Linked DNA regions of Homo sapiens: all the other regions are linked to region 1. Evidence: promoter capture Hi-C in 16 types of primary human blood cells and fetal thymus (Javierre and others, 2016). All regions are on one chromosome and are shown on one strand. Each heading gives the region's core, a stretch centred on a gene start or on the middle of the fragment in contact. The rest is flanking DNA. Distances are from core to core; before and after follow the strand shown.

What was found. The method cuts DNA at HindIII sites, captures the fragments that hold promoters and counts their contacts. A CHiCAGO score of 5 or more calls a contact.
Region 2: the fragment with the promoter of CMTM7 here is called in contact with the fragment with the promoter of EPM2AIP1 in region 1 in 1 of 17 cell types (M0 macrophages); the score reaches 7.7 in M0 macrophages.
Region 3: a contact is called between a fragment that was not itself captured here and the fragment with the promoter of EPM2AIP1 in region 1, in 1 of 17 cell types (total B cells). The highest score is 5.7, in total B cells.
Region 4: a contact is called between a fragment that was not itself captured here and the fragment with the promoter of EPM2AIP1 in region 1, in 3 of 17 cell types (activated CD4 T cells, naive CD8 T cells and total CD4 T cells). The highest score is 8.1, in activated CD4 T cells.
Region 5: a fragment that was not itself captured here is called in contact with the fragment with the promoter of EPM2AIP1 in region 1 in 1 of 17 cell types (M1 macrophages); the score reaches 5.2 in M1 macrophages.
Region 6: a contact is called between a fragment that was not itself captured here and the fragment with the promoter of EPM2AIP1 in region 1, in 3 of 17 cell types (non-activated CD4 T cells, activated CD4 T cells and total CD8 T cells). The highest score is 8.2, in non-activated CD4 T cells.
Region 7: a contact is called between a fragment that was not itself captured here and the fragment with the promoter of EPM2AIP1 in region 1, in 1 of 17 cell types (non-activated CD4 T cells). The highest score is 6.1, in non-activated CD4 T cells.

Annotation. Positions count from the first base shown.
Region 1 is chr3:36,991,476-36,994,702 of GRCh38, reverse strand. EPM2AIP1 (EPM2A interacting protein 1) reads left to right here and starts at 1,572. Exons shown (of 1, transcript NM_014805.4): 1 at 1,572-3,227. The coding sequence starts at 1,626. It overlaps MLH1 (mutL homolog 1), which reads right to left and starts at 1,185. Exons shown (of 19, transcript NM_000249.4): 1 at 1,040-1,185. The coding sequence starts at 1,155. RefSeq lists enhancers at 484-995, 912-1,131, 1,502-1,851, 1,972-2,291, 2,322-2,401. The HindIII fragment of the contact is 4,668 bases long and covers 701-3,227 here.
Region 2 is chr3:32,390,343-32,393,569 of GRCh38, reverse strand. It overlaps CMTM7 (CKLF like MARVEL transmembrane domain containing 7), which reads right to left and starts at 1,717. Exons shown (of 5, transcript NM_138410.4): 1 at 1,505-1,717. The coding sequence starts at 1,663. The HindIII fragment of the contact is 6,143 bases long and covers 1-2,459 here.
Region 3 is chr3:33,099,695-33,102,921 of GRCh38, reverse strand. No RefSeq gene overlaps it. Among named protein-coding and RNA genes, the nearest start is that of TMPPE, 4.2 kb to the right of the region's middle. The HindIII fragment of the contact is 1,746 bases long and covers 902-2,647 here.
Region 4 is chr3:33,408,184-33,411,410 of GRCh38, reverse strand. UBP1 (upstream binding protein 1) reads left to right here. Exons shown (of 16, transcript NM_014517.5): 6 at 1,810-1,962; 7 at 2,065-2,175; 8 at 2,614-2,721. It also overlaps a transcript of FBXL2 not described here. Among named protein-coding and RNA genes, the nearest start is that of UBP1, 31 kb to the left of the region's middle. The HindIII fragment of the contact is 3,325 bases long and covers 1-3,182 here.
Region 5 is chr3:33,426,487-33,429,713 of GRCh38, reverse strand. The region is part of intron 1 of UBP1 (upstream binding protein 1); the gene reads left to right. Among named protein-coding and RNA genes, the nearest start is that of UBP1, 12 kb to the left of the region's middle. RefSeq lists an enhancer at 3,062-3,227. The HindIII fragment of the contact is 3,479 bases long and covers 1-3,227 here.
Region 6 is chr3:33,442,767-33,445,993 of GRCh38, reverse strand. No RefSeq gene overlaps it. Among named protein-coding and RNA genes, the nearest start is that of UBP1, 4.0 kb to the right of the region's middle. The HindIII fragment of the contact is 4,305 bases long and covers 1-3,227 here.
Region 7 is chr3:40,458,915-40,462,141 of GRCh38, reverse strand. It overlaps RPL14 (ribosomal protein L14), which reads right to left. Exons shown (of 6, transcript NM_001034996.3): 4 at 636-735; 5 at 481-534; 6 at 1-203. Among named protein-coding and RNA genes, the nearest start is that of RPL14, 3.2 kb to the right of the region's middle. RefSeq lists a silencer at 3,010-3,227. The HindIII fragment of the contact is 1,723 bases long and covers 389-2,111 here.

The sequences.
Region 1 (3,227 bases), core at 323-2,822:
TCAATTCATTCTAACACAGTAGAAACAAAAGCCAGTCTGCCATTGCTTCTGTTACTACTATTACAAGTGAAAAGGAAAAAACATCCCCAGGTTCTTGCTCCTTCTTTCATCTACCTTCCAATTCTCTTCCTTTCCTTCAGTGGTCCTTTCTACCCACTGTTCTCTCAGTCCCATTGCCCTGAATAGTTTATACTTTCACAATAAATCCCTCTAGAAACCTACCACTCCAAACTGAAGCATTCTTTTTTCTATTAACGTACGGACGTCACTAACAACTGATTTTAACAAAATAATCTGACATAACGTTTAGGTGTATTTTGGGCTTGTCTTTTTGGAAGTTTATAGTCTGCACTCACTTTTCCTTCCACATGTTTCAAATCTCTTCCCTTCACATTTTTTGTCACAGTTATAAGCTTCAAAATCCAAGGATGACCCATAAAATCTGGTATCTTCGAAGTGCGTCCTCCGAAATAAAGGACAGGAAAACACTAAGAGGGGTCACTAATTTAACAATAGGGTAATCAGAAGTCAAGCCCAAAGTGCATCAGCCTGTCCTAAAACTACAAACGATTTGTTTTGAAAGAAACTCAAAATGAATTGTGCCTTTGGATGTGAACAGATGATTTCTGGAATGAATGAAAAGCAAGAAAACAGTAACACAGTACCCTCTGAAAAAAGGTTTTTCTCCCCATCTTAAGCTTTTATACATCTTTTAACTTCGCATGTTCTGCATACATAATTTTAAATTAAGTGGCTTCCTTACTTAGTTAACGGTACCATTAAGACAACACTACGTATATTCCTCCACTTACACTCCAAACAACCCTTAAAAGGTCTCGGGGGAGAGCGGTAAAGAAACACACGGTCTGCGGAAAAGGAGAAGGCCTGACTGGCACGTCAGGGAACCCGGCGGCCTCCGCCGTTGTGGGCATGCGCTGTACATGCCTCTGCCCGGGCAAAGAGGCGTGTCCGCGCCATTGAGTGACGCGGCCCGTTAAGTCGTAGCCCTTAAGTGAGCCCGGCTCGACTCCCTCCGTACCAGTTCTCAATCATCTCTTTGATAGCATTAGCTGGCCGCTGGATAACTTCCCCCGCCGCGATGCGGTTCACCACTGTCTCGTCCAGCCGCCGAATAACCCCTGCCACGAACGACATTTTGGCGCCAGAAGAGCCAAGGAAACGTCTAGATGCTCAACGGAAGTGCCTTCAGCCAATCACCTCAGTGCCTCGTGCTCACGTTCTTCCTTCAGCTGTAGCTTACGCCATCCAGCCCCACCCTTCAGCGGCAGCTATTGATTGGACAGCTTGAATGCCAGTCAAATTTCTCAACTCTGTGGGTTGCTGGGTCTCTTCGTCCCTCCCTGAAGCGGCTACTGCCCGCTACCTAGAAGGATATGCGCTTGCGCGTTAGAGATCGCTGTCCGCTCTTCCTATTGGTTCGTTTTTAGGAGCTCGGGGAATACGAAATATCCAGCCAATAGGAGCAGAGATGCCGGAACCGGGCTTGTGTGCCTCTGCTGAGGTGATCTGGCGCAGAGCGGAGGAGGTGCTTGGCGCTTCTCAGGCTCCTCCTCTCCCCTTGCGGCCTTTCTAACGTTGGCCCTGCTCTTGTGGCCTCCCGCAGAATGTGGATGACGCCCAAAAGAAGCAAGATGGAAGTCGACGAGGCTCTAGTTTTCCGGCCCGAGTGGACCCAGCGTTATTTGGTGGTGGAGCCTCCGGAGGGCGATGGGGCCCTGTGCCTGGTCTGTCGCCGCCTCATCGTAGCTACCCGCGAACGCGACGTCAGGCGCCACTACGAGGCTGAGCACGAATACTACGAGCGGTATGTGGCGGACGGCGAGCGCGCGGCCCTGGTGGAGCGTCTGCGTCAGGGCGACTTGCCCGTGGCCTCCTTCACTCCTGAAGAGAGAGCTGCTCGTGCAGGCCTCGGGCTCTGCCGCCTCTTGGCCTTGAAGGGTCGCGGCTGGGGTGAGGGGGACTTTGTATACCAGTGCATGGAGGTGTTGCTGAGAGAGGTACTGCCCGAGCATGTAAGCGTCCTGCAAGGCGTTGACTTATCTCCAGATATCACAAGGCAGAGGATCCTGAGCATTGACAGGAATCTACGCAACCAGCTTTTTAACCGAGCCAGGGACTTTAAAGCCTATTCTCTTGCCTTGGACGACCAGGCTTTTGTGGCCTATGAGAACTACCTCCTGGTCTTTATCCGCGGTGTAGGCCCTGAGTTGGAGGTGCAAGAAGATCTTCTGACCATAATCAACCTGACTCATCATTTCAGTGTTGGTGCGCTCATGTCGGCAATCCTAGAGTCCCTGCAGACAGCAGGGCTTAGCTTGCAGAGAATGGTTGGACTGACCACGACCCATACTTTGAGGATGATTGGTGAGAACTCAGGACTCGTCTCATACATGAGAGAAAAGGCCGTAAGCCCCAACTGTTGGAATGTCATTCATTATTCAGGATTTCTTCACTTGGAACTGTTGAGCTCCTATGATGTAGATGTTAATCAGATCATAAATACCATATCCGAATGGATAGTTTTGATTAAGACCAGAGGCGTTAGGCGACCTGAATTTCAGACTTTACTAACGGAATCTGAATCAGAGCATGGTGAAAGGGTTAATGGACGATGTCTGAACAATTGGCTTAGGAGAGGGAAAACTTTAAAACTAATATTCTCTCTAAGAAAAGAAATGGAAGCGTTCTTGGTTTCAGTAGGGGCAACAACAGTCCACTTCTCAGACAAACAATGGCTTTGTGACTTTGGCTTCTTGGTGGACATTATGGAACACCTTCGAGAACTCAGTGAAGAATTACGAGTTAGTAAAGTCTTTGCTGCTGCTGCCTTTGACCATATTTGTACTTTCGAAGTTAAGCTGAATTTATTTCAAAGACATATTGAGGAAAAAAATCTAACAGACTTTCCTGCCCTCAGAGAAGTTGTTGATGAGCTAAAACAGCAAAATAAGGAAGATGAAAAAATATTTGATCCTGATAGGTATCAAATGGTGATCTGTCGTCTCCAAAAAGAATTTGAGAGACATTTTAAGGACCTCAGGTTCATTAAAAAGGACTTAGAACTTTTTTCAAATCCATTTAACTTTAAACCTGAATATGCACCTATTTCAGTGAGGGTGGAGCTAACAAAACTTCAGGCAAACACTAATCTTTGGAATGAATACAGAATCAAAGACTTGGGGCAGTTTTATGCTGGATTGTCTGCT
Region 2 (3,227 bases), core at 468-2,967, 4.6 Mb after region 1:
AACTCATAGACCAACAAGAAGACTTTTCATCCCACAATATCTTTGTCCAGCAAACTCAGGGGCCAAGATGGAGGCTTCTGATCCCATTCTCTGTCTACCAAACTCATCCCTTCCAATGCTCAGGTAGGATATGTCTCACCCCAGCCCATCTTTTAAGGATGGTGAGATGGGCTGGTCTCTTCTATTTGGCTGATCAAATCTCTTAGCCTGGGCCAAAAAATGCCCTGCTCAAACCCAACAATGCTCAGCACCAGATTTTTTTGTACGTTGCTGAAATGGCTCTTCCTAGTTTTTGGTCTATCTAGACACCGTTCTTAGGGAGGCAGGAACTCAGCGCCCCTTCTCTTTAGGTCTGGCCCAAGCAAGACATGAGGGCCACCTCATGCACACTCAGTGTCTGGAATGGCAGTGCTATAGATGCACAGACGTCCTGTGCCCAACCCCCTGGGGCCAGGCCACCTTAGCAGGCCCCAGCTTCTGGGTGTGTGACCTTGTCCAGCCCCACACTCCTTTCCCCACACCTCTTTTTGAAACTTACCGCTCCCCTCCCCACCGTTCTTGGTGCAAACATTACAATGGTGGAGACTCACAAACAGCCCAACCCAGTTTCAAAACACATCATACAAACGGAAAAGTTGTTTCAGATTACAAACTTTTAAAGAAGAAAAAAACGGGAGGGGAGAAAAGAAAAGAGTGGGGAACAAGAGAATCGGCCAGGCAACGTCTGCCCTGGTAGGAGGCCCTTGTGCTGAGTTGGTCACAATCCAAGCCCAGACACTCATCCTGCCTGGCTCCACGGGTGACTCCCATTCAACAGTCTGGCTCCCCTACATGAGTACCAGCCCCTGACAACAGGCCTTTCCCAACTGACCCCCTGCCCTCCAGAGCCCCCTGAGACCCGGGCCCTCCCTCGGAACTTGAGGGCGCAGGGGACCAGGACGGCCGTCTCAACGGTCCCAGTTCTTTTTCCCCACTATGGAACACAAGACCCTCTGACCTCCTCCTTCGAGCGAAACTGCACACAGAGCAGGGAAGCCCTGCCGCGCTGGGTTCGGAGGAAAGAGGAGGCCGTGGACGGGGAAGAGGTCGGGTTTCGCTCCCTCAGCGCCGCCGCCTGGGCGACTCTTCCACCCCCGGCTCGGGTTCGAAGCGGCGCGGCCCAGAGAAGAGGAAGAAAGACGAAAAGGAACTTTGCCCGTGGTTTCAGTCAGTAGGCGGGTCAGGCTTCGCAGGGGGGTGGCCGGAGAAACTTGCGACCCTGGCGACCTGGGTCCGCGGGAGCAAGGGCCGGGGCGGCTCTGGGGACTGAGCTCCAGCGCGGGGGCTGCGGCAGCAACTTTCCCGGAGGAAGCCTGCCGCGAACTTTAGCGACGCGGTGCCCCGCCCGCTGCGCGATGCTCCCTGGGCTCCGGCCGGGTCCAGACGCCCGGCGCGTCCGCTCCCGGACCCCTGCTTTCCCGGGACGCCCTGTAGAACCTCGGCCTCGCGCCCCGCGCTCACTTACCATTTGCGCCACTTTCAGCAGGGCCGCGTGGGTGCGGGGGTAGCTGAGGTCCAGCAGCCCCTCCAAGGGGCTCGCGCTGGGCTGGGCCGCGCCGGCCCCGGGTCCGAGCGCGCTGCCGCTGCTGCACGTGGTGCGGACGAGCCCGGCTCCGTGCGACATTGCGCGGCCCCAGCTCGCTGGCCGCCTCCCCGGGCAGCTGCCCAGGGGCCAGATACAGAGGGCGGGCCGGGGGCGGGCGGGGGCGGGCGCTGGCGAGGGCGGGGCGCCCGGGTCCCTGCCCCGCTGCTGGAGACGCGGAGCCGCCTCTGGCGGGATCCCTCCGGTGACTGGCCGGCCGGCGCCTTCCAGAAAGGTAGCGGCAGTCCCGGCCCTCGTAGATGCGCGGAAGTTAGACTGGAGCGAGAGGAAACCGGATGCCTTGGGTCGTGGCCTCTCCGAGGTGGGCAAGGCCCGGACCACAGCTGGTACTGAGCCTCCTGGGATTTTGTGTGGGTGCGGCTGCGGATGTGTGCTGAGAGCACTTTACTGAAGTTTAACTTACATAAAGTGTGATGCCCAGACCTTACGTGTTCAGCTCCACTAATTTTTATATATGTGTACACCTGTGTAACCGTCGCCCAGATCAACAAATAGAACGTGCCCATCACCCCAGAAAGTTCCGTGGTGGGCCTTCCTGACCTACCTTCCTTCCCTGGCCCCATCCTTATCCAGCCTCAGGCAACCACTACAGTGTATTCTGCTTTCTGTCACTGTAGGTTCATTTTGCCTGTTCTTGGACTTCATAAACTTGAAGTAATACAGAATATTCTCCTTCAACATAACAAATTAGAAGATCCATCCTGTTGGGAATATAAGTAGTTCATATCAGTTCCTTCCTTTTTATTGCTGAGTAGTACTCCACTGTGCAAAGATACCGTATTTTTTAAACGTTTACCCAGTTGATGGACACCAAGCTTGCTTCCTTCCTACCTGCTTGCCTGCCTCCTTCCCTCCTTCCGGCCTTTCCCCCCTCCCTCATCTCTTTTCTGGCTATAGTCACTATTATGGTACACGTTTTTTTGGTGGATACAAACTCTCATTTCTCTGGGACAAATATCTGCAAGTGAACGCACTGGTTACAAGGGGAGCATATGTTTGCTTCTGTTAGAAGCTGTCAGCCTGGGGAACATGGCCAGACCTCATTTCTACAAAAAACAAAAAATAAAAATAAATTAGCTGGGCCGGGCGCGGTGGCTCACGCCTGTAATTCCAGCACTTTGGGAGGCCGAGGCGGGCGGATCACGAGGTCAGGAGATCGAGACCATTCTGGCTAACACGGTGAAACCCCGTCTCTACTAAAAATACAAAAAATTAGCTGGGCGTGGTGGCGGGCGCCTGCAGTCACAGCTACTCGGGATGCTGAGAATGGCGTGAACCCGGGAGGCGGAGCTTGCAGTGAGCAGAGCTTGCGCCACTGCATTCGAGCCTGGGCGACAGAGCGAGACTCTGTCTCAAAATAAAAATAAAAATAAAAATAAATAAATAAATAAATTAGCTGGGTGCAGTGGCACATGCCTGTTCAGGAGGCTGAGTCTGGAGGAGCCTTGGAGCCCAGGAGGTTGAGGCTGCAGTGAGCCATGACAGTGGCATTGCACTCCAGCCTGGGCCACAGAGCAAGACCTTGTCTCAATTAAAAAAAAAAAAAAAGACAAGAAAAAGAAAAAGCTGTCAAACAGCTATCCAA
Region 3 (3,227 bases), core at 525-3,024, 3.9 Mb after region 1:
TAATATTGAAACAATATTATTTTCTCATCCATAGCCTATATTCAACTTTTGTTAATTTTCCCAATAATGCTCTTACCGATTTTTTTTCCCCTGGTCTAAGATCCAGTCTAGGACAATGTATCACATTTATTTGCCTTGTCTTTCTAATGGAGTACATGTTTATTTTTCTTGCCTTTAATGTGTGTAATTTAATACTCTTTTAAAACCTATTCCAAATTATAATCACTTTAATGGCATTTAAAAAATATTAGAAATATAAAATTAGGCCGGGTGCCGTGGCTCTCACCTGTAATCTCAACACTTTGAGAGGCTGAAGTGGGCGGATTGCTTAAGCCCAGGAGTTCAAGACTAGCCTGGACAATATGGGGCAACCCCATCTCTACAAAAAGAAAAAAGAAAAATTTGCCAGACATGGTGGCCTGTGCCTGTAGTCTCAACTACTCAGGAGGCTGAGGTGGGAGGATCACCTGAGACCTGGAGTTCAAGGCTGCAGTGAGCCATGATCACGCCACTGCACTCCAGCCTGGGCAACAAAGTGAGACAAGAAAGAAAAGAGAGAGAGAGAGAAAAGAGAAAGAAAGAGAGAGAAAGAAAGAAGAAAGAAAGGGAGAGAGAAGAGAGAGAGAGAGAAAGAAAAAGAAAAGAAAGAAGGAAAGAAAGAAAGAAAAAGAAAAGAAAGAAGGAAAGAAAGAAAAAGAAAAGAAGGAGGGAAGGAAGGAAGGAGGGAAGAAAGGAAGGAAGGTAGGTTACATAAAATTTTTTATTGAAATGCAGGTCAGAACTGACACTGGGAATGAAAATTTGCTGAGTAGGAAAACTCCATAAGGGAAAACAGATCAAAGAAACTGAGTTTGATGATTAACTTGTGTGTAGAGCCCTGTTAGAACAGAAAAACAAAGCTTTCCTATGTTTTGGGGCCACACGTTTTTCTCCCTCTCATTGTTCTTATGCTACTGATGAGGCCTCTGTGCTTCTCAAACTATTTTTGGTAAAGGATGAGTTGTGTTTTTTTGTTTGTTTGTTTTGTTTTGTTTTGTTTTTGAGACAGATTCTCGCTCTGTCGCCCAGGCTGGAGTGCAGTGGCGCAATCTCACCTCACTGCAAGCTCCGCCTCCCGGGTTCCACGCCATTCTCCTGCCTCAGCCTCCCGAGTAGTTGGGACTACAGGCGCCCGCCACCACGCCCGGCTAATTTTTTGTATTTTTAGTAGAGACGGGGTTTCACCATGTTAGCCAGGATGGTCTCCATCTCCTGACCTCATGATCCCCCCGCCTCAGTCTCCCAAAGTGCTGGGATTACAAGTGTGAGCCACCGCGGCCGGACTTTTTTTTTTTTTTTTTAATTATTAGTGCTCTTTCCTGCCTATCAAGGATTGATCCTTTCATAAAAATTCAATAAAAATAAATTATTAGAAAAATAGGCCGGGTGTGGTGGCTCACACCTGTTATCCTAGCACTTTGGGAGGCTGAGGGGGGTGGATTGCCTGAGCTCAGGAGCTCAAGACCAGCCTGGGCAACATGGTGAAACCCCATCTCTACTAAAATACGAAAAAATCAGCCTGGCATGGTGGTGTGAGCCTGTAGTCCCAGCTACTCAGGAGGCCGAGGTTTAATTGCGAGAACCCAGGAGGTGGAGGTTGCAGTGAGCCAAGATCATGCCACTGCGCTCCAGTCTGGGCGACAAAGTGAAACTCTGTCTCAAAAACAAACAAACAAAAACTACTAGAGGCCAGGCGTGGTGGCTCACGCCTGTAATCCCAGCACTTTGGGAGGCCGAGGCAGGTGGATCACCTGAGGTCAGGAGTTTGAGACCAGCCTGACCAACATGGAGAAACCCCATCTCTACTGAAAATATAAAAGTAGCGGGGCATGGTGGCACATGCCTGTAATCCCAGCTACTCAGGAGGCTGAGGCAGGAGAATCGCTTGAATCCAGGAGGCAGAGGTTGCAGTGAGCCAAGATCGTGCCATTGCACTCCAGCCTGGGCAATAAAAGCGAAACTCTGTCTAAAAAAATAAAAATAAAACATTACTAGAACAATGAAATAAAAATAGATGCGTAATGATTTTGTTCATTATTAGATTCAACAGATAGACTTACTTTCTCAAATTGCTGCAAGTTTCTAAGTGCCTAGGCTGAATTTCTGTACTTATTGCACAGCACTGGTCTAAGGATCAGACTCTGAGAAGTATTAGTCTATATTAGAGCATGTACCATGTTTAGAGATGAGTGCCTGCAGGGTGACAGCCTTCTCATGGTCCCTTCATATTCTCCAGTATGCAGGGGGCTTTGCATCCAGCACACTCTGTCTGTGCATTTAAATGGGAACCAAACAGTACACTATGAGCAGAAGCATAGCCTTGTGAAAATAACTCAGGCCCTAACGTCAGGCAATGTAACTTTAGAGACTCTACTGCTCCCCAGCTCTGTGGCTACTGGCAAGTCATTTAACTCCTCTGGGTCTCAGCTTTCTCATCTGTGAAATGTGGATAAGAGCATGCAGCTCGGATTGGGAGGAATAGTGACACATACTGGTAAAGCATTCAGCACAACAATGGCTATTACTACTATTGCCATTTCAACTACAAACATAGTCAAATACTAAAAATCTCAGAAACAATCTACAATCTATATTCCTTTGGCAAGCTTATACTGTAAAGGGCTAGAACATAAATATATTCAGTTTTGTAGGTCCTAAGATCTGTGTTGCAACTACTCCATTCTACCGTTGTAGCGTGAAAGCAACCATATGCAATATGCAGAGGATTATAGGTGGCTGTGTTCTAAGAAAACTATTTATGTGTAATCTTGGCACTTTGGCAGCCAAAGTGGGCAGATTACTTGAGGCCAGGAGTTCAAGACCAACCCTGGCAACAAGGCAAGATCTTGTCTTTAGAAAAAAAAAAATTATTCAGGCATGGTGGCACTCGCCTGTAGTCCCAGCTACTTAGCTACTCAGGAGGCCGACATGGGACGACTGCTTCAGCTCAGGAGTTCAAGGCTGCTGTGAGCTATGATTGCACCACTGCACTCCAGCCTGGGTGACAGAGCAAGACTGTGTCTAAAAAAACAAAACAAAACAAAAAAAACAAAAACCAACCCCACAAAACTTTATTTATGGACACTGACACAGGAAACTTACAACATTTTCAAATGTCATAAAATATTATTCTTTTGATTTTTTTTCATTCATTTAAAAATGTAAAAACCATTTTTAGGTGGCAGGCC
Region 4 (3,227 bases), core at 271-2,770, 3.6 Mb after region 1:
CTAACATATATGAAGACATTCTATGATATGTAAAGCATTATTCAAATGTTATTTTTACCACTAGTAGTCCCAATAATGAAAATGTCTATTTTTCATGAGATGTATTTCTCTTGAACACAAGCTGCTATTTAAAAGGATACGATTGAAAAAAGATTGAGGTTTTAAAATTCCTTCTAGCATTATTTTTAAAACATTCTAATACTGAAAAATTCAAACCTCTACAAATAGGATAATAATGATGACTAATTGTCCATGTAACCATCACCTGGCTTTAGCAGTTTTTAGTAGTTTCCGCCCCCTTTTAGTTATTCTTGGAGCACTTTTTTTTTTTTTTTTTTGAGATGGAGTTTCATTCTGTCACCCAGGCTGGAATACAGTGGCATGATCTCGGCTCACTGCAATCTCCGCCTCCCAGATTCAAGCTCTTCTCATCTCTCAGCCTCCTGAGTAGCTGGGATTACAGGTGTGCACCACAATGCCTGGCTGATTTTTGTATTTTTAGTAGAGATGGGGGTTTCACCATATTGGCCAGACTGGTCTTGAGCTCCTGACCTCAAGTGATCTACCTGCCTTGTCCTCCTAAAGTGCTGGGATTACAGGTGTGAGCCACTGTGCCCAGCCTGTTAGAGTACTTTAAAGCAAGTTTCAGGCATACCATTTCATCCATAAATATCATGTCTCTAAGAGATGAGTTTTAAAAAGTAACTATAATATCATTATTCTGTGTTTAAAAAAAATAGTGATTCTAATACCCACAATGTTCAAATTTGTATGTGGTGGAATTTAAACTACCAGGTAGGTAATATATAGAAAAGGAAAACCACTTACTTGCTGACCAGCCTTCATAAGCTATGCTTTGCATGAACTGTAAAAAATCATTTGTATTTTGCATTTTGGTATTCTACCAATATTATTCTCCATCAGTTAATCCCTGGGGGCATGGTTTATATCCGTTGAATATTGATGTAAACTCATACTGTTGGTGTTTGTCTATAAGGCAACTAGTTATGTAGTAAATCAAAGTGATACAAGACCTGGCTTTACATATCAGGTTGTGTTGTCATATTGCAGAGATCAGTTTTAATAGTGAGTCATTAGAAGAGGGGGATGTGCAGCAGTCAGAAATGACCAAGGTCTTGCTGTTAACTCTGTGTGAAACCCTAAGGCTGTCATCCAGGGTGGGTATTAGGAGACAGGGCAGGAGTGGTGGAAGATGAGTATTGCCCTCTGGATCCTGAATGGACTTTGAAGAGTTGACCAAAGAGTTTAGATGGATACAGAATAGGATGGGTAGTGGGTTTTCTGGACTGTAAAATTTCCCCAGGCAAAGTATCACAAATTGGCATCTGTAGGAACAGCAGTAAGATAGTTGGCTGGGTAGAATAGGGGTAATGGCAGTAGAGGGCAAACAACAGAAGCTCTAAACAATGAAGTGAAGATTGCTGTGGATTGAACAGGGCTTAGTACCCTGGGTCTGAGATGAGCAGACAGTCCAAGGTGGAGGTGGGCAGTATACATAGGAAGCTACTGTAGTGTTGTACCCCTGATTGGACCCAAGTCCTGCATTAGAGGAGAGGCACTGTGATGGGCAAGAGCTCAGAAAGTCTGGAGAGGCTCAGTTGGATTTGTGAGAGGGAAGCCATATCTTAAAAACAATTAGGTTCATAGATAATTTGGCTAATATGTGTGATGAGTTTATTTTAAAGGATCTTGAATTTATAGTGGTGTCAGGTCACTCAAGAGGGAACAAAATAGAAAAATAACCAGTGGAAGTTCTTTGAATCCATTTCAGCCTGAATCGTTTTATAGGTACACTGCATCAGCACAGAATTTACTCCACGGAAGCACGGAGGTGAAAAGGGAGTGCCCTTTAGGATCCAGGTTGACACCTTTAAGCAGAATGAAAATGGAGAATACACAGATCATCTACACTCAGCTAGCTGCCAAATCAAAGTTTTTAAGGTAAGACAGAGAACCCGGGTTTTCTGTAATTAAGGCTCAGTTTTGCCTGTAAAGCTGTGTGTCTGCAGCCTGATAGATGAAATAGTATACTTTGTTTTTAAGCCTAAAGGTGCAGACAGGAAACAAAAAACTGACCGAGAGAAGATGGAGAAGAGAACAGCTCATGAAAAAGAAAAGTATCAGCCGTCCTATGATACCACAATCCTCACAGAGGTAATGTAGTAAAGCATTTGGTTTTGGAAGAGAAGCAAAGGTTGCATATTAGTCTATTTCTAAGATGAGTTCTGCTACAAAAGGGTTGGGGAAGATTGGGTGGCAGTTTGACATGTTATTCTCTGTGAAATTTCTGGGGAAAATATTTAAATTTGGGGATTTTGATAGACTGTTTCCTGGGTGGGATCTTAAATGAAGATGCTGAAATCCCAATGAGGTCTTAGAAACAGACCTTAAAAACTTTGAAGTTGGCAAGAGACTTAAGTTGGAGCCTAGAAAGTCCAATTTTTGTCACTGCTGGGGTTTTGCATTTTTTTTAACTTTGAATCCTGTTAGTCATGCATTTGTTTAATTGGACTGAAGAGACATGAAACAGGGTGTTAGATCTTTCTTTGTATAATGAAAAGACATTGATCCCAATCTTTGGTGTTTGTCCAGATGAGGCTTGAGCCTATAATTGAAGATGCAGTTGAACATGAGCAGAAAAAGTCCAGCAAGCGGACTTTGCCAGCAGACTACGGTGATTCTCTGGCAAAGCGAGGCAGTGTAAGGGACTTCTGCTTCTCTTTTCATTGTGCAAGAAACCTTGTGCAGTGTTAGATATAGGACCAACTTCCACCGCAAAGTAAAGCCAAAATTGTTTTTGATGTCCATGTCTTGATTTAATTTGCTTTTGTTTAGACTTCCTGCTTCTGTTTGTTCCTCACTGAGGAAAATTTCCTAAATCTAACACTTTAAAACAAAGCAAAAAACAATGTTGACCATATTGGGTGGTTTTGGAGGGAAAAAAAGACACTCAGAGATATGTATTCCCTCCCTGACTCCTTCCCTTCCTCCTTCCCTCCCTCTCTCCTTCACACACACACCTCCTTCAAGAGCACTGAAATTAATTGAAAATACTTTCTTTAGTAAATTAGCTATTATTTTTGTGTAACTGAAAAGGGTCTTGCTTTCTCATGTGTATACTTGATAAAATTTTGTGGACAGTTAGATGATGGCAGCAAGCTTGACATTAACACGTGCAGTTCTTTGTTACATTTTTCTGCATGTAG
Region 5 (3,227 bases), core at 467-2,966, 3.6 Mb after region 1:
AGCATCCTGATTTTTGGTGCTAAGCTACATTAAAATTTACCAACATGTAGATCTTTCAGTTTTGCCTTCTAAAATGCATCATTTGGGCCTGGTGCAGTGGCTCATGCCTGTAATCCCAGCACTTTAGGAGGCCGAGGTGGGTGGATCACTTGAGGCCAGGAGTTCAAAATCAGCCTGGCCAACATGGGGAAACCCCACTCTACTAAAAATACAAACATTAGCCAGGCATGGTGGTACAAGCCTGTAATACTAGCTACTTGGGAGGTTGAGGTGGGAGGTTGAGGCTGTAGTGAGCCATGATCATGCCACTGCACTCCAGCCTGGGAGACAGAGCCAGACCCTGTCTTAAAAAAAAAAAAATAAAGAAACACCCTACTTTTAGTTCCGTTTAACATTCTGTCTTTAGTACTCAAAAGTCTGTTTCCATTTATGGGATTACAAAAACCATCAAGGTTTTAGGACTTTCAACATAGTAGAAATTATAATCTTGTCTGGAGACCTAGTTTTCAATCTTAATACTAATTGGTTGATTATTAATGCAGCAATCAGTTCATTGATTTAGCAAGTATTTGAGCTCCTTTGTGCTAGATGCTGGCATCAGTCATTGAAGAAACACGTATTTGGAGTTACGTGCTTATAGCAGATACAAAGTTAGTAAGTCATGTATATTTTTGGAAAGTGGTAAGAGCTGTGTATAGAGCTAGGGTAGGGAAATTGGGAGTGTGGGTGGGAGGACTCCAGTGTCATGTTGTCACTGAAAAGATGACATTTGAATGAAATGAGCCATTAGGATATCCAGTAGAAGAGTAGAATCAGGAGGCCGGGGTAGTTGGAGCAGGGGGAATGAGGGTGACGAGAAGAGGGGTTGAAGAGCAGGTTGCGTAGGGCTTTTTTTTTTTTTTTTTTGAGACGTAGGATTTCGTAAGGACTTTGGTTGAAAGTGAGCTGATGTAAGGATTCAGAGAATTGAAATGGTTTAACTTCTGTTTGAAAAGGATCACTGGTTGCTGTGTTGACTGGAAGGCATTTTCTTTCTAATTAAGTAAAAAATTAATTGGAAATTCAATAGCAAATAATCTTTACATGTTTATATGTTTGTTCAGGAGTCGTTTAGCACTTACCATGAGCATAGTATTTTCTGTGTGGATCATGGAGACTATAACCAAGTGAATAAAAAAGTGGTTGTCTTCTAGGATCTGAAGCATATAAAATTGTCTTCCATATGTGACAATTTATTAAAAAAAGCCATTCTCATGCAGTTATACATCTTATTTTGATGATCTGTATCTAATGATCAACCCAAGCAGTTAGCATTGAAATGTTAAAATTATTCCCTGTGTTATTTTTCGGTATAATTAATGGTTCTGAGTCACAACTCTCATTCTTGTTTTCTTTCTCTCTGAGAGGGTTTTAAATGCTTACATATACACAAAATGCAGTATATATTTTTATCTTCCCTGGAGCCAATTTGACTGTTATGACTGATTTTTATAAAGAGGTGATCTGATTCTTTTTTTTTTTTTTTTTTTTTTGAGATGGAATCTCGCTCTGTCACTGAGGCTGGAGTGCAGTGTCACGATCTCAGCTCACTGCAACCTCCGACTCCCAGGTTCAGGCAATTCTCTTGCCTCAGCCTTCCAAGTAGCTGGGACTACAGGCGTGCCCCACTACGCCCAGCTAATTTTTGTATTTTTAGTAGAGACGGGGTTTCCCCCGCCATGTCTCGAACTCCTGACCTCAGGTGATCACCCACCTCAGCCTTCCAAAGTGCTGGAATTATAGGTGTGAGTCACTGCTCCTGGCCTGAAGTCTTCTGAAAAGTTTTTATATCTGCCCCCAAGGCAGGAGCTTAGGTGGGGCAAAATCCCTAGGTCAAGGTGTTGAGAGAACTCTGTGGGAGTGTTGGGACCATTGCTAACCGTGTGATCCTTGGTTATTACTTGTGTACGTAGGAGTGTTTTGACAATTCCTGGGTATAAATAAGAGAGGGAGAATTAGTGGATAGTTAGTATCTTTGAAAATCAGCACAGTGCTTTAATAGAAATGCATGGGGGGAGTAGGGACTACTGGTGGGATAACGTTCTCTCCCAGGGTTTCCGTCCCATTTCACTTGTTTTCACATTCTGTTTTTGAATTGAATTGAATTGACCTGGCTACCCAAGTATCTTAGTGAACAGCTTGTAGGAAAAAAAGAGAAAATAAGCAGTTCAGACAAGTCCCTATTATTGGTGTTGATACAGTAGTTATTCATTTGATGTTTTGTTGTTGCTGTTATTATCATTTTACTTTTTATTGAAGAATGAGTATAGAAAAGTTAAGATACAAACGTACAGCTCAGATAATTATCTCAAAAACAAATAATCACCTTCCATACATTAATAGGGGAAATGTAAAATTATTGCAACCACTTTGAAAAACAGCTTGGCAGTTGCTCAGAAAGTTAAACAGAGGCGGGGCGTGATGGCTCACGCCTATAATCCCAGCACTTTGGGAGGCTGAGGCGGGCGGATCACTTGAGGCCAGGAGTTTGAGACTAGTCTGGCCTACATGGCGAAACCCTGTCTCTACTAAAAATACAATTACCTGGGTGTGGTGGCACATGCCTCTAATCCCAGCTACTTGGGAGGCGGAAGCATGAGAATGACTTGAGCCCAGGAGTCAGAGGTTGTGGTGAGCCAAGATACCACCACTGCACTCCAGCCTGGGTGACAAAGTGAGACTTTGTCTCCAATAAAATAAGTAAAATAAAGTTAAACAGAGTTACCATGTGATCCAGTAATTCCAGTTCCAGGTGTATACTTAGCAGAATTTATCTACACAAAAACATAGAAAAGTGTTCATAGCAGCATGATTCATAATTGCTAAAAAATGGAAACCACCCAGATGGCCATCATCTGAATGGATACAGAATACGGTATGCCTATACAATGGAATGGAGCCATTAAAAAGAATGAAGCATTGGTACATGTTAGAACACGGATGGTCCATGAAACATGCTAAGTGAAAGAAGCCAGTCACAAAAGACCACATAGTCATATGATTCCATTTAAATGTCCCAAATAGCAAATCCGTAGAGATAGAAAACAAATCAGTGGGTGCCAGGGGCTGAGTGGGTCTGGGATAGTATGGTGAGTGACTACTAATGGGTATGGGATTTCTTTTTGAGGGGAGAAAATATTTTGGAATTCAAGAATTAGATACTGATGATGTGAATATACTTAAAACCA
Region 6 (3,227 bases), core at 254-2,753, 3.5 Mb after region 1:
AAATAAAAGTCTTATATGCACTCATAGAATATAGTTTTATTTATAAAAGATTTCAAAGCCAGTCTTCTAACAAACAACCTTGTGCCTTAATAAATTAAAAAATAGGCTGGGTGCAGTGGCTCATGCCTGTAATCCCAGCACTTTGGGAGGCCAAGGCAGGCAGATCACGAGGTTAGGAGGTCGAGACCATTCTGGCCAATATGGTGAAACCCCGTCTCTACTAAAATACAAAAAAATTAACCAGGCATGATGGCGGGCACCTATAGTCCCAGCTACTCAGGAGGCTGAGGCAGGGGCATCACTTGAACCCAGGAGGAGGAGGTTGCAGTGAGCCGAGATCGCACCACTGCACTCCAGCCTGGCAACAGAGCAAGACTCTGTCTCAAAAAAAAAAAATTAAACAATTAAAAAACCCCAATATAGATAACTGATGTTAATACCTTTATTACCTCATAATCAGTCAAAAACTTTAGTCCACTCCTCTTAACCAATATCATAAATTTAAAAAAAAACATTGCCAGGAGGCCTTCAGTCTTGTAGATACAGACATCATTTATTGTCTCTTTTTCCATAATTTAGAATAAATGAAGCAATGATTAGAAATTTATCCCTCATGGCCAGGCATGGTGGCTCACACCTGTAATCCAACACTTTGGGAGGCTGAGGCGTGTGGATCACATGGTTAGGAGTTCGAGACCAGCCTGGCCAAAATGGTAAAACCCTGTCTCTACTAAAAACACACACACACACAAAAAAACAAAAAAACCTGGGCATAGAGGTGCACGTCTGTAATCCCAGCTACTCAGGAGGCTGAGGCAGGAGAATCACTTGAACCCAGGAGGTGGAGGTTGCAGTGAGCCGAGATTGTGCCACTGCACTCCCGCCTGGCAACAGAGTGAGACTCTCTCAAAAAAAAAAAAAGGAAAAAAAAAGAAATTTATCCCTCATGGCCGGGCGCGGTGGCTCACACCTGTAATCCCAGCACTTTGGGAGGCCGAGGTGGGTGGATCTCCTGAGGTCAGGAGTTCAAGACCAGCCTGGCCAACATGGTGAAACCCCATCTCTACTGAAAAAAAATATACAAAAAATTAGCTGGGCATGGTGGCGGGTGCCTGTAATCCCAAAAACTCAGGAGGCTGAGGCAGGAGAATCACTTGAACCTGGAAGGCAGAGGTTGCAGTGAGCCAAGATTACACCATTGCACTCCAGCTTGGGCAACAAGAGCAAAACTCCATCTCAAAAAAAAAAAAGGCCGGGCATGATGGCTCACGCCTGTAATCCCAGCACTTTGGGAGGCTGAGGTGGGCGGATCACAAGGTCAGAAGATCGAGACCATCCTGGCTAACATGGTGAAACCCCGTCTCTACTAAAAACAGAAAAAAATTAGCTGGGTGTGCTGGCGGGCACCTGTAGTCCCAGCTACTCGGGAGGTTGAGGCAGGAGAAAGGCATGAACCCGGTAGGTGGAGCTTGCAGTGAGCCGAGATCGCTCCACTGCACTCCAGCCTGGGTGACAGAGCAAGACTCCGTCTCAACAAGTAAAAAAAAAAAAAAGAAAGAAAAAGGAAATTTATCCCTCATAGTAGACTCTATAGCTGACTCTACTGCAAAGGCCATGGCACAACAGACTTTAAGTTCTCTTGCTAAAGTTGTGCTAGATAACGGAATTGCTGTATATTACTTACTGAGATACAGAGAAGTATGTATCTCTGTATGCAGATACTTCTCTGTATCTGCATACAGAGAAGTATGTATCTCTGTATGCAGATACAGAGAAGTATCTGCAGTTGCTCACACTTCTTGTTGCACAGAGATGAACATATCAGGTATTATAGAGATTCAGTTACAGGGGATTAATAAACAAGCTGCTTGGTTAAAACAGCTTGATCTTTTATCTAGCTCTTTCTTTGATCTATTTGATTTTAGTTAGTTTAGTTCATGTTGACCCTGGCTAAGGGGCATACTCCAAAGTCTTGGTATTATCCTCTTGGTAATCTTAATAGTAGTCTCCTATGTGCACTAAGGACTTTCAAAAGTTTTAAATGTTTACATACAATCATCCATAAAATGTCCATAAAATTTAAATAAATAAAAATTCCAACATAATAAAAAAAAAGTATCCTCTACTCTAACGCTTACCAGAAAATAACCTAAAGTCCTTATTCGCACCTTACAAAACCCACTGTTGTACTATTTCCCAATGGGATTTGCGACCAGATAAGTACATTTACAATGGTCAGAAAGTAATGTCAATGTCTAGGATTTTGGTCAACCTCTCTATTTTGGTCAAGTTGAGAGGTTGAACAAAAGGGGAGAAATTGTTAAATTGAGTTTAGCCTAAAGTTGCCTCCTTATAAGTTCAGCCTAAAGGTTTCTCTGTACACAGTAAATTGTAACCTAACTGGATGTATAAATGGTCTATAACCTATTATAACAATCGCTGAGTTTTGGCTAATTACAGGAGGCCAACTGTTCAAATAATACACTCAACCAATCAAGCTGTTTTTATATCTCACTTCTGTTTTCCGTACATCACTGTCCTTTTTCTGTCCATAAATCTTCTTCCACCATGCAACAGTGTTGGAGTCTCTCTGAACATATTCTGGTTCGGGGTGGCTACCTGATTGACAAATCTTTTTTTTGCAAAATTAAACTCTTATATTTAATTTGTCTAAAGTTTTCTTTTAACACTATCCTTCTTTTATATTTTGGTCTCTTTATGACATTACTATTTAGCGCTGCTTGATACTTCTATTTTTTTTCCAGACAGGGTCTCATCTGTCACCCAGGCTAGAGTGGCATTATCATGGCTCACTGCAAGCCTTGACCTCCTGGTCTCAAGTGATCCTCCCACCTCAGCCTCTGGAGTAGCTGGGACCACAGGTGCAGGTCACCATGTCTGGCTAATTAAAAAAATTTTTTTGGCCAGGAGCGGTGGCTCATGCCTGTAATTCCAGCACTTTGGGAGGCTGAGGCAGGCAGATCACGAGGTCAGGAGATCGAGACCATCCTGGCTAACACAGTGAAACCCTGTCTCTATTAAAAATACAAAAAATTAGCCTGGTGTGGTGGCGGCCGTCTGTAGTCCCAGCTACTCGGGAGGCTGAGGCAGAAGAATGGTGCGAACCCCGGAGGCGCAGCTTGCAGTGAGCTGAGATCGCACCACTGCACTCCAGCCTGGGCAACAAAGCAAGACTCTGTCTCAAAAAAAATTTTTCTTTTGTAGAG
Region 7 (3,227 bases), core at 1-2,500, 3.5 Mb before region 1:
TGGCCTGTGGCTTTCTGGGCAGGAACCTTCTGGGCTGGAGCCTTTTTACTCGCGGCGGTGATCTTTTTTGCTGGAACTTTAGCAGCAGCAGCAGCAGCAGCAGCAGCAGCAGTACCCTTAGTACCAGGTGCTTTTTTGGGAGAAGCTTTCAGGAGAGCTGCCTTTTGAAGCTTCTTAACTTCATTCTTGATTATTCTGTTCCTCTGAAAATTATCAATGTAAGAAAGCACTTATTGTGTATACATACAATAAAATCCAATTTATGCTGGTTTTAGAAAGGGCATTAAGTAGTCTGTTTCCCTACAACTACATCTGAAGAAAGGTAACAATTCCATAGGGACATCATGAAATACAAATGAAGATAAATTCTCCTTTTTTACAGAAAGCTTCCAAGAAGCTGGCAGCCTGAAATGGGATTTGGCTACTGCTCCCTTATTATTTAAAGCTAAGTTACACAAAAATACAGATCTTAAATCTTACCATTTTCTTTGCCTTCATAACTTTAAAACGATCAAAATCTGTCATCTTGGCTTTCTGTTAAAAAAAAAACAACAAATAAAAATTATCCCTCTCACACTATCTTGAACCCTCCAAAAAAAGAAAGGACCAGAATTCAAATGACCCTAAGTTATTACCCTTTCTCTGGCTTCAATCTTCTTGGCCCATCGTGTGGCTGCCCATTTTGTATTGATGTCTGCCTTCTGCCAGGCTTGTCGGACATACTTCTGGTGGGCACTAGAACGAGCCAAGACCACAGATTAAGAAATCAGCTTTGAAGTCACTCATTATCAAAGACACTTTCTTTGTTCCTTGAAAAGCACTCTTCCTGTTACACAACACCTGGTACACTATGTATTTTACTTATTTTTGTGTTCAGTAAGCCAGAATAGGTTATTAACTTCAAGCATATTTTAATCAAAACTGTAATCCAGTCCCTTTTTTTTTTTGAGAGAGGATCTTGCTTGCCACCCAGGCTGGAATGCAATAGTATGATCATGGCTCACTGTAGCCTCAACCTTCTAGGCTCAAGCCATCCTCCTGCCTCAGCCTCCCAAGTAGCTGGGACTACAGGTGCATACCAGCACACCCAGCTAATTTTTATATTTTTTGTAGAGACAGGGTCTTGCTACGTTGCCCAGGCTGGTCTCCAACTCCTGGGCTCAAGCAACCCTCCACCTTGGCCTCCTGAAGTGCTGGGATTACAGGTATGAGCCACTGCACCCAGCCCAGCCCATTTTATGAATTTAAAAACTACCTCTTGACCAGGCGCAGTGGCTCACACCTGTAATCCCAGCACTTTGGGAGGTCAAGATGGGTGGATCACCTGAGGTCAGGAGTTCAAGACCAGGTTGGCCAACATAGTGAAACCCCATCTCTACTAAAAACACAAAAATTAGCTGGGCGTGGTTGCAGGTGCCTATAATCCCAGCTACTTGGGAGCCTGAGGTTGCAGTGAGTCAAGATTGCGTCACTGCACTCTAGCCTGGGTGACAAAGTGAGACTCCGTGTCAAAAGAAAAAAAAAACCCTCAAAAAAAACACAAAAAACCCACCTCTGACTATATATAATTCCACTCGGGCAGTGGACGTGTTGAAAACCATTCTTTTTTTTTTTCTTTTTTTGAGACAGGGTCTTGCTCTGTAACCCAGGATGGAGAATGCACTGGCGCAACGTTGGCTCACTGTGACCTCTGCTTCCTAGGTTCTAGCAATTCTTCTGTTCCATCCACCCAAATAGCTGGGGCTACAGGAGTACACTACCACACTGGGCTAATTTTTGGACTTTTAGTGGAGACGGGGTTGGCTAGGCTGGTCTCAAATTCCTGACCTCAAGTTATCTACCTGCCTTGGCCTCCCAGAGTGCTGAGATTACAGGTATGAGCCACTGCACACATCCGAGCCATTCATTCTCGTAACAAACAAGGTAATTAATATTAACTGTTAGGCTTTTTTTTAAAAAAAAATTTACAGTAACAATTTGTGGCCAAACATCCTAAAAATAAAATCCAGGGTGTCCAGGGATCCAAGGCAGAATTACAAGAGTACCTAGTGAAAAATCTAAGTTACCAAGTATTTTCTACTGCTTTGAACTTTGACAAGTATCCTCAAGCTTCACCCCTAATTGGTATGTCACAGTAGTAGCAGCATGGCTATGTTCACTCGAGGTTGTTCAAGTGGCATGTTTTCAACTACCAGTACTTCAAAATCCATTATGTGTTAATACACGTCCCACAGTGCCTGTAGTGCTCAGCATACAGTAAGTTTTTTTTTTTTTTTTTTTTTTGAAACGGAGTCTCGCTCTGTCACCCAGGCTGGAGTGCAGTGTTGCGATCTCGGCTCACTGCAAGCTCCGCCTCCCGGGCTCACGCCATTCTCCTGCCTCAGCCTCTGAAGTAGCTGGGACTACAGGTGTCCGCCACCATGCCCGGAATATTTTTTTTTTGTATTTTTAGTAGAGACGGGGTTTCACCGTGTTAGCCAGGACGGTCTCCATCTCCTGACCTCGTGATCCACCCGCCTCGGCCTTCCAAAGTGCTGGGATTATAGGCGTGAGCCACCGCGCCCGGCCAACATACAGCAAGTTTTTGACTATTTTTTAAAGCATGCAAAATTACATGTTCCACTGCAACCATCATTGTGGGTTGAATTAACTGTATAGCAACACACTAAAGTGTTTTAATTTTCATGTCAAAAAAGAACTGCTATTCACTGCCTCACTTAAATGTAAGCTAGGGATAAAACCTCTTATATTAAATACTGTGTAACTGACACACACTGAGAGCTTATCTAATGATAGCTAGTAGCAATAAACACAAGACTTAGTATTGTTGTTTACTTTAAGCTAAAAATTTGGCAGAAACCAGAAGAAAAGAAGATGGCAAATCTAAACAAAGGCAAAGCCCTAAACTACCAGGATAGAAAAGTGACCTCAAGGCATTTATTTTATTTATTTATTTTTGAGACAGGGTCTCACTCTGTCATCCAGGCTGGAGTGCAGTGGCATGATCACGGCTCTCTGCAGCCTCGACCTCGCTAAAACGATCCTCCCAACTCAGCACCCCCAAGGCCCCCCTACCTGGGATTACAGGCGCGTGCCACCATGCCCAACGAATTTTTTTTTTATTTTTTGTAGAGATGGGGGTTTTCGCCATGTTGCCCATGCTGGTCTTGAAACTTGGGCTCAAGAGACCCTCCCACCGTGGCCTCCCAAAGTACTGGGATTACAGG